Regions from separate parts of the Homo sapiens genome. Here regions 2, 3, 4 and 5 are each linked to region 1. The links are contacts of gene promoters, found by promoter capture Hi-C in blood cells and fetal thymus (Javierre and others, 2016). All regions are on one chromosome and are shown on one strand. The core of a region is centred on a gene start or on the middle of the fragment in contact, and the rest is flanking DNA. Distances in the headings are between cores, read along the strand shown. Region 1 holds the start of GUCA1B (guanylate cyclase activator 1B). Region 2 overlaps USP49 (ubiquitin specific peptidase 49). Region 3 overlaps USP49 (ubiquitin specific peptidase 49). Region 4 has its middle 27 kb from the start of UBR2. Region 5 overlaps USP49 (ubiquitin specific peptidase 49).

Region 1 (2,557 bases), core at 17-2,516:
GGGAGGCTGAGGCATGAGAATCACTTGAACCCGGAGGCGGAAGTTGCAGTGAGCCGAGATCACACCACTGCACTCCAGCCTGGGCGACAGAGCGAGACCCTGTCTCAAAAAATAGAAATTTAAAAAAAAAAAGCAAAGAAAAAGAAAAATGTGTGTCCCTGGTCTTTTGATTTCTTGGAGGTGTCATTTTTATGTTACATTAAAATAAGCATGAATATGTAATTGTTCAAAAGCAAATTTTACATGACCTATAATGTAAAAGTAAGAGCCTTCAAAGATATTTTAGGCCATGCTCCCAGATCCTTCTCACATGTTAGTATTTTGGAGGAAATGTGAAAAAGGCACTACCCCTAGGTCTTGTGTGAAGGGTTGGAGGGAGGCATTTGTAGTTTAAATCAGAAAGTGAAAAGCTCCCAAGATGAAAGGTGTAATCTGGAAAGGAGCTTCAGGGACCGAGTTAGCCTGGGAAGAGAGTTGCTCACCTAGAGCCCTTCCCATCATAGATTCTGCCTCTTTTCACTAGACCGTCTGAGGGGCGAGTCCCAGATCACCAGCAGATTCTGTTTTATGGCCTAGGACTTGATCTCACTTCCTCTCTGGATTTGAGTCTCCTGTCTCCAAGATGGGCCTCCCTGAAGCAATGTGAGGCCCAGCTAAAGAGATAGGGAGTGAGTGAGATGGGAGGATCCCAGCCTAGCACCCCGACTCTTTCTTCACTCTGCATCTCTCTGCTTACCTCTCAGTTTCTTCCCCTTCTACCTCTTCAGAGTCTACCAGGGCCAGCTTGGTTGCTTTGTTGACAAGGCTAAGGGAAGGAGTGAGGCTGGAGGAGTTTAGGCTGGAGGTCAGAACTTCCTGGGGAATCTCTTTTTTTTTTTTTTTTTTTTTTTTTGAGACAGAGTCTCACTCTGTCCCCCAGGCTGGAGTGCAGTGGTGTGATCGCAGCTCACTGCAACCTCTATCTCCCAGGTTCAAGTGATTCTCCTGCCTCAGCCTCCTGAATAGCTGGGATTACAGGTACCCACCACCATGCCCAGCTAATTTTTTGTATTTTTAGTAGAGACAGGATTTCACCATGTTGGCCAGGCTGGTCTCGAACTCCTGACCTTGTGATCCACCCACCTCGGCCTCCCAAAGTGCTGGGATTACAGGCATGAGCCACCGCACCCGGCCACCTGGGGAATCTTCTAATAGTCTTAGGGCAGCTTAGCTGGCCTGGACCCACCTCCCTTGCCACCTGCCCCCTGCACCGACTGATCATGTTCAGTCACCCAGGAGATGATGGAGAGGCTGATCAGGCCTCCTGGAAAGGGAGGAAGAGGGCCCTAGTTGGAGAGATCCATCAGCAGAAGCCAGGGAGGAGATACAGACCCTTGCTCCCTGATGCTCCTCAGGGCTAGCATGGGGCAGGAGTTTAGCTGGGAGGAGGCGGAGGCAGCTGGCGAGATAGATGTGGCGGAGCTCCAGGAGTGGTACAAGAAGTTTGTGATGGAGTGCCCCAGCGGCACACTCTTTATGCATGAGTTTAAGCGCTTCTTCAAGGTCACAGACGATGAGGAGGCCTCCCAGTATGTAGAGGGCATGTTCCGAGCCTTCGACAAGAATGGGGTAAGGCACCCTGAAGGGAAGGACCAGTGGCCAGTCCACCTGGCGCCTTCCTCCACAAGTGTCCTCAGGGAGAGCTCCCAGTTCCCCACTCCTCGGCTCTTTCTCTGCTCTTCTTTCCACTCCGTCTCTCTTTACCTTTTCTGTCTCACTCACCAAACCCTTCTGTCTCTTCTCTTCCTTTTGTCCCTTTCCATCTTCTCTGTCTCTCCTTCCCTCCCTCCATCTCTTAGCTGTCGGCTGATGCTCCCTGTGTCCTCTTCTTGAGAGCTGAAGGGCGACTGGCAGACAGTCCAGGTCCTCTCTTTGTGTATTTTTGACCAAGACTCTGCAGCCCAATGACCGGGTTTTCGCATCTGCCAGAGCCCCTGTCACTCTAAACACTAGGAGCAAAAGAGATGTTCTAAATGAGACAAGGTATCTTAGCATGGGCTATGAGCTCCCTCTTGTTGGGGTTCTTCTGAGACTGGTCAGATCCTCCCTGTCAAGAATGCTGGAAGAGGCTCCTGCATGTATTGGGAGACTGGGCGAATGACTGCAAAAGCCCCTTTCAGCTCTTCAAGTCCTGGAAGGTTTCATTAAATCATTCAGACTAGAGTTTCTCTAAGCCCACAATGTCACTAGCAGCTAAGAAGATAACACATCTTGTAAATGCACCAGGGGATTGAATTTTAAATTTCAATTCAGTTAAAAACCCCTTGATTATTTAAGGTTATCCAGTTCAGTGCCCTGGCAATCCTCAAATACCTCAAATACCTCAAATGCCCTGGTATTTGCCTCAAATACCAATTTAATCTGAAGAAAGTGTCAGTTCTCCATTCCTCAGTGCGTGGAGAACTTAGCTTTCTAAGCTGAATCACTGGGAATGCCACTTCAGGTCTCATCCTGTCGCTGGTACCAGTCAGTGCACGTCCCCACAGTGCCTGTCCCGGGACAGGAGGGTGAGGTCAGC
Region 2 (2,557 bases), core at 22-2,521, 400 kb after region 1:
AGCAGAGTTTATTTTTGTTTTTAATGGCAAGGCTTCTAGAGTCAATGATTGTATGAGTTTGCTACTCTGGCTGTGCTTACAGCTTCATCCAAGTACAAGGGAAGAACCAATGAGGTGGATTGGCTGACAGTGGGGCATGCCCCAGCATAAGCCCTAGAGAGGTCGACAGTAGTGCAGAATGAAAACTTGGTCGGGGATGGCGGGTGGTGGGTGGGAGGAGGGTGGGCTGGCCGGGAGGGAGAAATGGAGTTTGTTCTACTTACTGATAAAGCTTTGTGAACTAATTTTATACAATTCATAAAATTTGGTGCCTTGTACTCAATTACGGTTTGCATGGAATTGAAAAGATTAAGGGAAAGGATTTCTTCTTGTCATTTCAAGTGGCAAATGGGTCTGTGTAGTGTTTAAAGGACATCTGGTATCACAGACTTTTAAAAAGCATTTCATGTCTCTTGTGTGTGAATGCAAATTATTCTTACCAGCAAGTTCTGAAATTATGTTACAATGTCCAAATTCTTTGTATTTGTGACTGTTCATCAAATGGCTGCTTTTCAAGGCAGACTGTGTACTCCATTGTTTTTCACTTCCCTTGTCATGTTCCATACATTGACTTGGGCCTTTTTAAATCAGGCTGGGGGGCTACCCCTTCTTAAATGAATACTATATCCCTATCTGAGGTTACCTCTTGTGAGTGGAAGGGTTGCTTTCCCAGGTGGTTGGGAGAGCACAAATGTTGAGAAAAGGCCTTTTAGTCTTTATCAAAACAATGACTAATGCTGGGCAACATATAGCAGAAGTCAAACAAAAATGATTCCTCCTGAAATGGTACCTTCATTGGTTCTGATGTTCTTTTGCAAAAAATGTCCGGAAGCAGTATAGAAAACCCCCTGTATGTGAACCTTAGATTGTAAGGCAAGCCAGTGCACTGTGTAATATGCAAAGGGAGTGGTGCAAAAGAGAAGGCACCCGTCCCAGCTCTCCATGCCCTTTCCCTGGCAGGCGCTGACTGAGATGGCGCTGAGTGAATGTGGAAGGTGCTAAGACCCAGTCTCTTCACTGCAGGGCTGTTTACAGCCAGTTTCTTTTACTCTGACCTTAAGGTTTCCACTGAGCTCATGAAACTTCAACATATGGTGTTTAAAAGTTTCCCACTCAAATGCACACTTGAAAATTGGGTCCCTCAGCCTCATTACTGAACTAAATAAGTGAAGAAGTTGTATCTTTGGGGTAAAACTTTCCAGGGCCACTTAATTTTTTAACCAGTTAAGTACGCATCTTCCTGGTGGTTCAGACTTTTTAAGTCAGTGCTAAAGCTGAAAAGCGCCTTCTAAATATGACTGTGAGTTTAGTTTGTATCTTACATTTAGTAACTGTTCTGTTGGGCCAGGACTATGACTTTAATTACTATGTACTTATTCATCCCACACTCTGCACTAAATACACCATAGCTACTATAGCATTGTGGCAGGCACTCATTTTTGTGGACTCATTCCATACTTCTGCTGGCATATTTCGTTTAAAATCTAGCTAAAGATTTTCATAGTACTGTGTTAACTAGCCAGGGCTGAAAAGTGTGACAGGATATCAAATTGACTTTCCTTGGGGAAAATGTTGCTTTGGCAATAGTGAAGTCCAACTCCTTCATTTACAGAATTAGTGATTACTCATCAATTTTTGAAAGTTGTAGATTAAGTAGTTTTATTTACTAAATTCTTAACCACTTTGAAGATTTAAGCCAGTTGAAATGAAACATTGGCTGGATGCAGTTGGCTAGCACCTGTAATCCCAACACTTTGGGAGGCCAAGGTGGGAGGATTGCTTGAGGCCAGGAGCTCAAGACCAGCCTGGGAAACATAGATTTGAAATCTTTTCAAAAATGTATAAAAATTTAATAAATAAATAAATGAATCCTTACTCAACCATAATTATGGCTTTAAAACCCAACCAACAGTAAACACTTACTTGAAGCCAAAACAGTAAATTTTGAATGAAATTTGAATTATGCTTTTGGAAGCTGCCATGTCTTAATTCTTGCTGGATTTTGATTTTCAATTTTGGAAGTTTTTATCAAAACTGTCCAGTCATGAGTATATCAGGTAGCAGCCTTTAAGGATCTAAGTTTCATTCCTATAAAGAACAGGAGGTGCTGGTATTTCTTGTCTTAGCAAGTGATCTGATGCAGGTCTAAATGGGGGTTAGCATCTATACTATGGCTTAAAAGTTTCCTCCTTGGTCACCATTTGGGAGGTGATGGCTTCAAAGCTAAGCTTTGCTCTCATGTGACCCTTCTTTATCTTAATACCCAATAAGATATAAACCTCTCAGAGTCAACCCAGTGTAGACTCAAAGGGTCTTAGCTTCATCTATCAGATAAGATCTATCTGATTTATACAAAGAATGGTGCTGTTTTTATATACATACTAAAAAAATCTAATTCTCAAACAATTTTCTTAATATTTATGCCAGCAAGGTCAGGAAAGACTATTTTGTCCTGTTTAACTTTAGTAGTGAACAAACTGCTAGAGACATCTGTCATCCTTAACAGGCCACTGTGGTC
Region 3 (2,557 bases), core at 22-2,521, 360 kb after region 1:
GCGCACCACCACGCCCAGCTAATTTTTTGTATTTTTATTTATTTTTATTTTTATTTCTGTTTTGAGATGGAGTCTCGCTCTGTTGCCCAGGCTGGAGTGCAGCGGCACAATCTCGGCTCACTGCAACCTCCACCCCCTGGGTTCAAGCGATTCTCCTGCCTCAGCCTCCTGAGTAGCTGGGGTTACAGGTGCATGCCACCACGCCCGGCTAATTTTTGTATTTTTAGTAGAGACGGGGTTTCACCATGTTGGTTAGGCTGGTCTTAAACTCCTGACTTCGTGATCTGCCCGCCTCAGCCTCCCAAAGTGCTGGTATTACAGGCGTGAGCCACTGCGCCTGGCAATTTTTTGTATTTTTAGTAGAAACGGGGTTTCACCATGTTAGCCAGGCTGGTCTTGAACTCCTGACCTCAGGTGATCTGCCCACCTCTGCCTCCCAAAGTGCTGGGATTACAGGCATGAGTCACCAATCCCAGTCGATAGCTCTACCTTTTATAGTGACAATGCAGGTTATCTTGTGTGGAGGTTCCTATCAATCAGCCTGTACAGGTAGCACCAGTGTATAACAATCTCTTGGCCAGTCAGCACTGGTGCTTCGTGCTGCTTTCCTAAATTTTTTTTTTTTCTCTTGAGACGGAGTCTTGCTCTGTTGCCCAGGCTGGAGTGCAGTGGTGCGATCTTGGCTCACTGCAACCGCCACCTCCCAGGTTCAAGTGATTCTCTTGCTTCAGCCTCCTGAGTGGGATTACAGGTATGCACCACCATGCCCAGCTAATTTTTGTATTTTTAGTACAGATGGGGTTTCACCATGTTGGCCAGGCTGGTCTCGAACTGGTTAACCTCAGGTGATCCACTGGCTTGGCCTTCCAAAGTACTGAGATTACAGGTGTGAGCCACCACGCCTGGCCTGCTTTCCTAAATTTGAATTGGTTGCAAATCTGTTTTGTTTGCTCCATCATTGTCTGTCATTAACATACTATTTATTTATTTTCAAAAGTATAAACTTATATGGAATTTCTGTAGGGGTTAAAGTAGACACTAGGTTACCAAGGCATAATTTCCCAAGACTTGGAGACCTGTGATCACTGGGAGGATTTTTGGATCTTCATCTGAACTTAGCTATATTAAACATTGAAACAATCCTACAAAATGCCTAGATGAGACAGGTTTACAGGTAAGTTTTATCAGACCTTCATGGAACAGATAAACCATAGAAGAATTAAACTGTTTTAGAGAAGAGATAAAGTGGGAAAGCTGCTATCTCAGGTTTTGAGGTTAGTATAATCTTGGTACAAAACAGGGAAGGTCAGTATATTATAAGAAAATGAAAGGCTAATCTTCTAAAAATGGATTTGAAACATCTAAACAGTACTAGCAAATTGAATGTATTATTGTATTAAAAAACAAAACATCAAGACCAAATAGTTTGTTTAAATTATTATATGCAAGGATGGTTTCATATCAGAAAATACATCACTGATATCATCCAACATATTAATTTTTAAAAGGGGAAGTTCTTCTTATTTTCTTAATAGGTTCAGAAGAAAACATTATATGAACTTTAATATTTAGTCTGATTAAATTTTTTTCACAAAGCTAGAAATAAAAAACTTTCTTAACCTAAAGTTAACCAAAACTTCCTTTGGTAGACATCACACTTAACAGTAAAACTACAGACCTGTTCCCTCTCAAGTTAAGAACAGTACATGGTGCCCACTATCAGCCTTAATATTTACTAATCAACTGAACTTCCTGGTTAATTCCAGAAGACAAGAAAGAGAGGACCAAGCTGTCTATATTTGAAGACTATGTAGACATCCATAGAAAATTCAAGAGAATCCGCCAGGCGCGGTGGCTCACGCCTGTAATCTCAGCACTTTGGAAGGCTGAGGTGGGCAGATCACCTGAGGTCAGGAGTTCAAGACCAGCCTGACCAACATGGAGAAACCCCATCTCTACTAAAAATACAAAATTAGCCGGGCATTGTGTTGCATGCCTGTAATCCCAGCTACTTGGGAGGCTGAAGCAGGAGAATCGCTTGAACCCGGGAGGCGAGGTTGCAGTGAGCCAAGATCGTGCCATTGCACTCCAGCCTGGGCAACAAGCGCGAAACACCATCTTAAAAAAAAAAAAAAATTCAAGAGAATCCACAAATTATTAGAACTAATAATAATAGTTCTGCAAAGTTGCTGAGTTTCAGATCAGCAACCTTTTGATTCAACCATACAAAATTATAATTTATGTAGGTCAAAATGGTCGTTAAATATTTATTTGCAGTTTCATATGATTAAACCTAATACAGAAATCAATCACATTCCTGTCTACCAGCAATAATCATTTAGTAAATGTATACTTTTTTAAAGATTCTATTCATAGTAGCCACAAAAAAACTATAAAGTATCCAGGAAATATCTAAACAAGAAATATATATCTTGGGGAGAAAACATAATCAAAAGACCTGGATAAACAGAGAGATAGCATGTTCATGGATGGGAGGACTTCATATAATAAAGAGGTAATTTTCCCTAAATAAGTTTATAAATTCAATAAATGCCAA
Region 4 (2,557 bases), core at 38-2,537, 340 kb before region 1:
ATATTGCTTTTGTAAAAAAATAATCTAAAAGCTTGCTTTCTCTCTTATACTTTGGAACAGTTTAACAGCATTGGAACTATCTGGTGAGTAATTTAAAAAATTAGTGTCCAGTACCTGAACAGACTGACCCTCTACCCTCCTTCAAATCAAATAATAGTTTATAGGGTGATGCCTACTTGTAAGTCAGCTCCGCAAGCTGTGGTCTCAGCAACTACAGAGGTAATATTAAATGAAAGACACAAAATTTACTTTCTCGAAGCTTCAGGCAGCCGGAAAAGGAGGAGAAGGGAAAGGAAAAGGAAGAGGAGGAAGTTAATTGTGTTGTTTGGACAAGAATGTAGTTCAACAGACTGTTTTTCTTCAGCCAACAACAAGACAAGCCTGATAAAAAAAGGACGAAGTAAAAGGAATTTCTGCTACTCCTTTCTCCAAAGCTCTCAGACTTGGCCTCACGATTCTGTAGTCTCCTCAAGAGTCCTGTAGAAGATTTCCCAGAGGAGATAGGTAAGGCTGTCTCTGGGCCACTGGAACAAGGTCTGGGGTTGCTGCTTGCTGACAAACAGCAAAGTGCTGTGTTGGTTTAGTGATTTGCTGATCCCTTTTCTTTGATGAAGATGGTGTTTGATTCATTGCATCAGCTTGATTTGGCTAACTCAAGACCTGGCTTTTCACAGTTTATCTACTACCTGGGGAAACACTGAGGTGGAAGGTTCTAGAAAAAGTTCAGTGTATTATAAATGAGAGACTTCTGATTATGTCTGCAAGTGGAAGTTGCTGCTGCCCAAGGCTTGATTTCACCATCAGACAGTGGCCAAATGGGATGACTCTTACAATTCTCCAAGTGTACAGTGAAATGGGGAGGTTTCGAAGATGCCTTCATATTTTAGATGGGCTTGGAGCTTAGACCACTTCCATATTCCCTTTTAACTGTCATAATTGATGAGGGAGTCAGTATAGCTCAAGTGACCAAGAGCATAGACTCTGGATTAGACAGATCTAGTGTGGATCCCATTTCTGCTCTAATTAGCTCCATCAAATTAATGAACCTCCCTGAGCCTCAGCTTATCTGGAAAATGAGGACAGTCATCGAACTTACCTCACTCAGAAGGCTGATGTGAAGATGAAGTGAGATATTGGGTAAAAGGCTCCTGACAGGATGTCAGGCCCATAAGTGAGGACCTATAAGTGATTGTTATTGTTGGTGTTACTATTATTCTATATGTCTTCTGGGACTGATGCTTCTGTCACTAAATAAGTGAATAAAGCTCCTGCTCATGGAGAGAGGCTGTTAAGGGTCAGGCCTGTCTGGGAGTTCGATAGCAGCTGGGGACTTGCCTAAACCGATCCACCCCATGGTTAGCAGGAAGATGCTGATCCCTTAGTCTCCTGTTCTCACTTCCACATCTTTTGTCTTAGGGGAAGTGGTAGGAACTTCTTGGATGTGCAAGCTCTGTCCTCTGAAAGTAGACCAGGGTCTTTATTCTGGTTGTGAGTGGAGAGTGAACTCCAAGTCAGAAAATCTTGTTACTTCTGATTAGTCATCAACAGAGCAAGGCCCCCTCGGGGGACTCACCTGCTCCCTGCACCATCGAACGTGCTCTGAGTATCACACCACCTCTCAACATCTTCTCCTGGACAACCCTGTGCTGCTCAGCTGCTCCTGCCCTCTGACACTAGCCTCCAGTTGGGTTCTCTCTCTGACTGGAATAGCCTGGACTGGTTGTGGATAAAGAAGTTTGCCCCCTCCTTCTCCCTCATTTTGCCCTCTTTGCAATGTCTTTCCTCTCTCTTCCTACCCCAGGGACCCCCTAGTCTTCACTTCCTTCAGTTACCCTGTGTTTTCCCATCCTCTTCCACACTTCTTCCCATTGCAATCACATTTTAAATCCTTTATTCAAAAGTTTAATAAATGAATCTAATTACTTAAAGTATGTGCTAAGCTCTCTTGCTTGTAGTAAATGGCTTTCTTTGGTTTATCTCAAATAATTCTCTTCCTCCAGTGGGAGGGTAGGTTACATAATTATTGTGAAGAACCCACATGGTAATTGGGGGAATCAGGGCACTGCCGGCACCAGAGTGGCTGCCCAGCTGGGCCTCATTGCAGCTACAGCATGGCTGGGGAACCAGAAGTGGGGCCCAGGATACAGAGCTCTGGGGACAGTAACGTGTCCCCCTCTCAGCAGGAGATTGTCTACCTTTTGACATGACTGTGACACAGCCTCCTTCTGCCTCTGATTCTCACACTTTTGCCACTACCAGCTCACCTCTAACCCTTCTTTTCTTTGCCTCATGGCTTCTGTTCTCTACAAGCTTCTACTTATCAAGAGTTCTGGTTCTCAATGGCTTCTATGACCTCATGGCACTGCCTCTTCTTTGGTGGACAGGAGTTTTTACAGTGGAGCCCCTCACGGGCTGCTGCTGGCTGGGCCACTCATTGGCTGACCCTGCATTGGTTTTCCACCCCTGATCCATTCGCCAGTGGACACAGAAGACCCATGGCTCTGGGCTGGGTGTGGTGGCTCACACCTGTAATCCCAGCACTTTGGGAGGCCAAGGT
Region 5 (2,557 bases), core at 17-2,516, 320 kb after region 1:
GGCTCCTTACTTCCCAGATGGGGCGGCGGACGCCCGGCCGGGAACATATTTTCTTAAAGTTTCTTCGAAGAGGAACTCTGTGTTAGCTGTTAGGATGACACAATAGAGAATTTTCTTTCCTCTTACAGTGGTGGCCCAGCTTGCCGATCTCAAGCTTAATACTGAGTCCTACTTCCTGATAATGTGTCAGAAACCTTAAACATGCTTATACATATAATTTGTCAAAATCATAAACTCTAGATGTCTTTGGCTAATATATTGTCCTTGTGTACAGAATATATACCGCTTTTAAAGAAGCATGCCGCTTACATATAGGTCATAAACCCACTTAGCACAAAAGAGTCACCACCTCATGCCATCTTGTTATATATTTTGCTTACGCAAAAATAATTTTAGCTTTTGATATTCGAGTATTTTTGTTACCATGAATTTGTGTGTTTTTTCCTGAGTTTCAGATTGTATGCAAATATAATGTGTAATTTTTAAGACCTAAAACAAATGCAGAAGTGCTTTTTTTCAGGAAGTAAACCTTTAATACTTCCATTTGTAGATCAGTCTACCCATAAGTGACTGACTCTTTGGTTACTCTTAGCTGAAAAGAAAGATCACAGTTTTTTTTTTACTCTTACATCAGTTTTAAGGACTTGTAGGGAGTTTAATGCATTGTAATTTACTGGTCCTTTTTTGAATTTGTATTACAATTAATGAAATTGCTTTTTTCTTGCCATGTATTAGCCCAATCTTACAGATTGTTTCCCACTTGTAGGTAATAGAGAAGAGGAAACCTAACCAATGACTGTGGAATAATATGGAAGAAGATGGAAAAAACTTGTTTAATGGGTAAGAAATAAAAACTGTAATAAAACATTATTAATGAAAGCTATTTATAATAATAGTATTATGTGTGGCTGAGGTTGGCATACTATGAGGGTAATTGATCAGTTACTGTTTTGTCTAACTCCATTCTGAACTTTCACCGCTTGCTTTCATCTTAACCTTGTGAATTTTTTAGTACCACGAATTAACTTAAGCTAAGAGGGGACACAGCCATATTTGAAGTTAAAATGGGACCTAAAGACCAGCAACCATACTGAAACAAGTCTAGGGTAGGTCTTGAAACTTGGTGGTAAGATAGAGATCGTATCTGTCATGACCTGTCAAGAGTAATTATCTACCCCTTCTTTTTCTCCAAATATGTCAGTTGCTATGATGTTTGTCCCACCACGAGGATCCCGTTCATTTGAGCAAGTGCAGATGTGTGTCTGGTGGTAATCAAATAGAATTCTGCTTTGGGAGGTTGAGGTGGGAGGATGGCTTGAGGCCCGGAATTCTTTTATTTATTTATTTAGTTTTGAGATGGAGTCTTGCTCTGTTGCCCAGGCTGGAGTGCAGTGGTGTGATCGTGGCTCACTGCAACCTCTGCCTCCCGGGTGCAAGCAATTCTCTTGCCTCAGCCTCCCAACTAGCTGGAACTACAGGCACCCGCCACGACACCTGGCTAATTTTTGTATTTTTGTAGAAACGGGGTTTCATTATGTTGGCCAGGCTGGTCTCAAACTCCTGACCTCAAGTGATCTGCCCACCTTGTGCTGGGATATGCCTCCCAAAGTGCTGGGATTACAGGCGTGAGCCACTGTGCCTGGCTGAGACCAGGAATTCTAGCCAGCCTGGGCAATATAGCAAGACCTCATCTCTACCAAAAAAAAAAAAAAAAATTAGCCAGGTGTGGTGGCTAGCTACTCGGGAGGCTAAGGTGACAGGATTGCTTGAGCCCAGGAGATTGAGGCTGTAGTGAGCTATAATCATTCCACTGCACTCCAGCCTGGGCAACAGAGCAAGACCTTCTTAAAAAATAGAATTCTACAGAAAGCTCAGTAAAAGGTTTGACTTTAAGTTTATGAGATATAAAAGTTTTTTTAATTATGCAAGTTTATACATTCATGTCAATAATTTAAAAATAACAGATAACTACAATCCTCTACCTGAATCTTACCCTCCTCCCAGAGTCTATAAGTATATGGCATGTATTTGTGCAACCTTCTTTGCCTAGTGGTTAAAAACATGGATTTGGAGCCAGACCGTTTTTAACCAGTCACTATTAACTTGACATTTGGACATGTTATCTCTGTGCCTCAATTCCTTGGATATAAGGTGAGGACAATAAAATGCTATCTCTTAGCAATTGATTAGTTAATCCATATAAAAAACTTGAAATAATGTCTGGAATGAAGTAAGTGTTTAGTAAATGTTAACTATAATTCTCATATGTATCCCAGTTAGCCTTTTTATGTGCCAGCCATCCACACATAAATTTTTCTCTGATACATTCCAAGAGTTAAACCATCTCAGATACGGTTAACCATGGTGGCAAAAGCTTTTTAGTTTTTTTCATGAGAAGTTTTCTTTTGACTTCATCTCTGAGTATGCTGCTAGACTATGTGTGAGGATAAAGTTCTATATCTTTACCTTTTACTGTATATCTTAGGGTGTATATGATGTTTATAGTTATATATGAATAAACAACTATCTTCAGCCTAACATAGGTTCATCTTGCCTG

What was found. Contacts are between HindIII fragments. The CHiCAGO score rates a contact against its expected background, and 5 or more counts as called.
Region 2: a fragment that was not itself captured here is called in contact with the fragment with the promoter of GUCA1B in region 1 in 6 of 17 cell types (erythroblasts, megakaryocytes, endothelial precursors and 3 more); the score reaches 7.2 in erythroblasts.
Region 3: a fragment that was not itself captured here is called in contact with the fragment with the promoter of GUCA1B in region 1 in 5 of 17 cell types (naive CD4 T cells, naive CD8 T cells, non-activated CD4 T cells and 2 more); the score reaches 7.9 in naive CD4 T cells.
Region 4: a fragment that was not itself captured here is called in contact with the fragment with the promoter of GUCA1B in region 1 in 1 of 17 cell types (endothelial precursors); the score reaches 6.0 in endothelial precursors.
Region 5: a contact is called between a fragment that was not itself captured here and the fragment with the promoter of GUCA1B in region 1, in 2 of 17 cell types (naive CD8 T cells and naive CD4 T cells). The highest score is 5.8, in naive CD8 T cells.

What each region holds. Positions count from the first base shown.
Region 1 is chr6:42,193,665-42,196,221 of GRCh38, reverse strand. It overlaps GUCA1B (guanylate cyclase activator 1B), which reads left to right and starts at 1,266. Exons shown (of 4, transcript NM_002098.6): 1 at 1,266-1,608. The coding sequence starts at 1,402. The HindIII fragment of the contact is 7,472 bases long and covers 1-2,557 here.
Region 2 is chr6:41,790,609-41,793,165 of GRCh38, reverse strand. It overlaps USP49 (ubiquitin specific peptidase 49), which reads left to right. Exons shown (of 8, transcript NM_001286554.2): 8 at 1-2,557. Among named protein-coding and RNA genes, the nearest start is that of TOMM6, 4.2 kb to the right of the region's middle. The HindIII fragment of the contact is 1,996 bases long and covers 274-2,269 here.
Region 3 is chr6:41,828,896-41,831,452 of GRCh38, reverse strand. All of the region lies in intron 3 of USP49 (ubiquitin specific peptidase 49), which reads left to right. Among named protein-coding and RNA genes, the nearest start is that of TOMM6, 42 kb to the right of the region's middle. The HindIII fragment of the contact is 3,275 bases long and covers 1-2,557 here.
Region 4 is chr6:42,535,995-42,538,551 of GRCh38, reverse strand. No RefSeq gene overlaps it. Among named protein-coding and RNA genes, the nearest start is that of UBR2, 27 kb to the left of the region's middle. The HindIII fragment of the contact is 2,051 bases long and covers 262-2,312 here.
Region 5 is chr6:41,869,847-41,872,403 of GRCh38, reverse strand. It overlaps USP49 (ubiquitin specific peptidase 49), which reads left to right. Exons shown (of 8, transcript NM_001286554.2): 3 at 767-840. Among named protein-coding and RNA genes, the nearest start is that of USP49, 24 kb to the left of the region's middle. The HindIII fragment of the contact is 2,220 bases long and covers 157-2,376 here.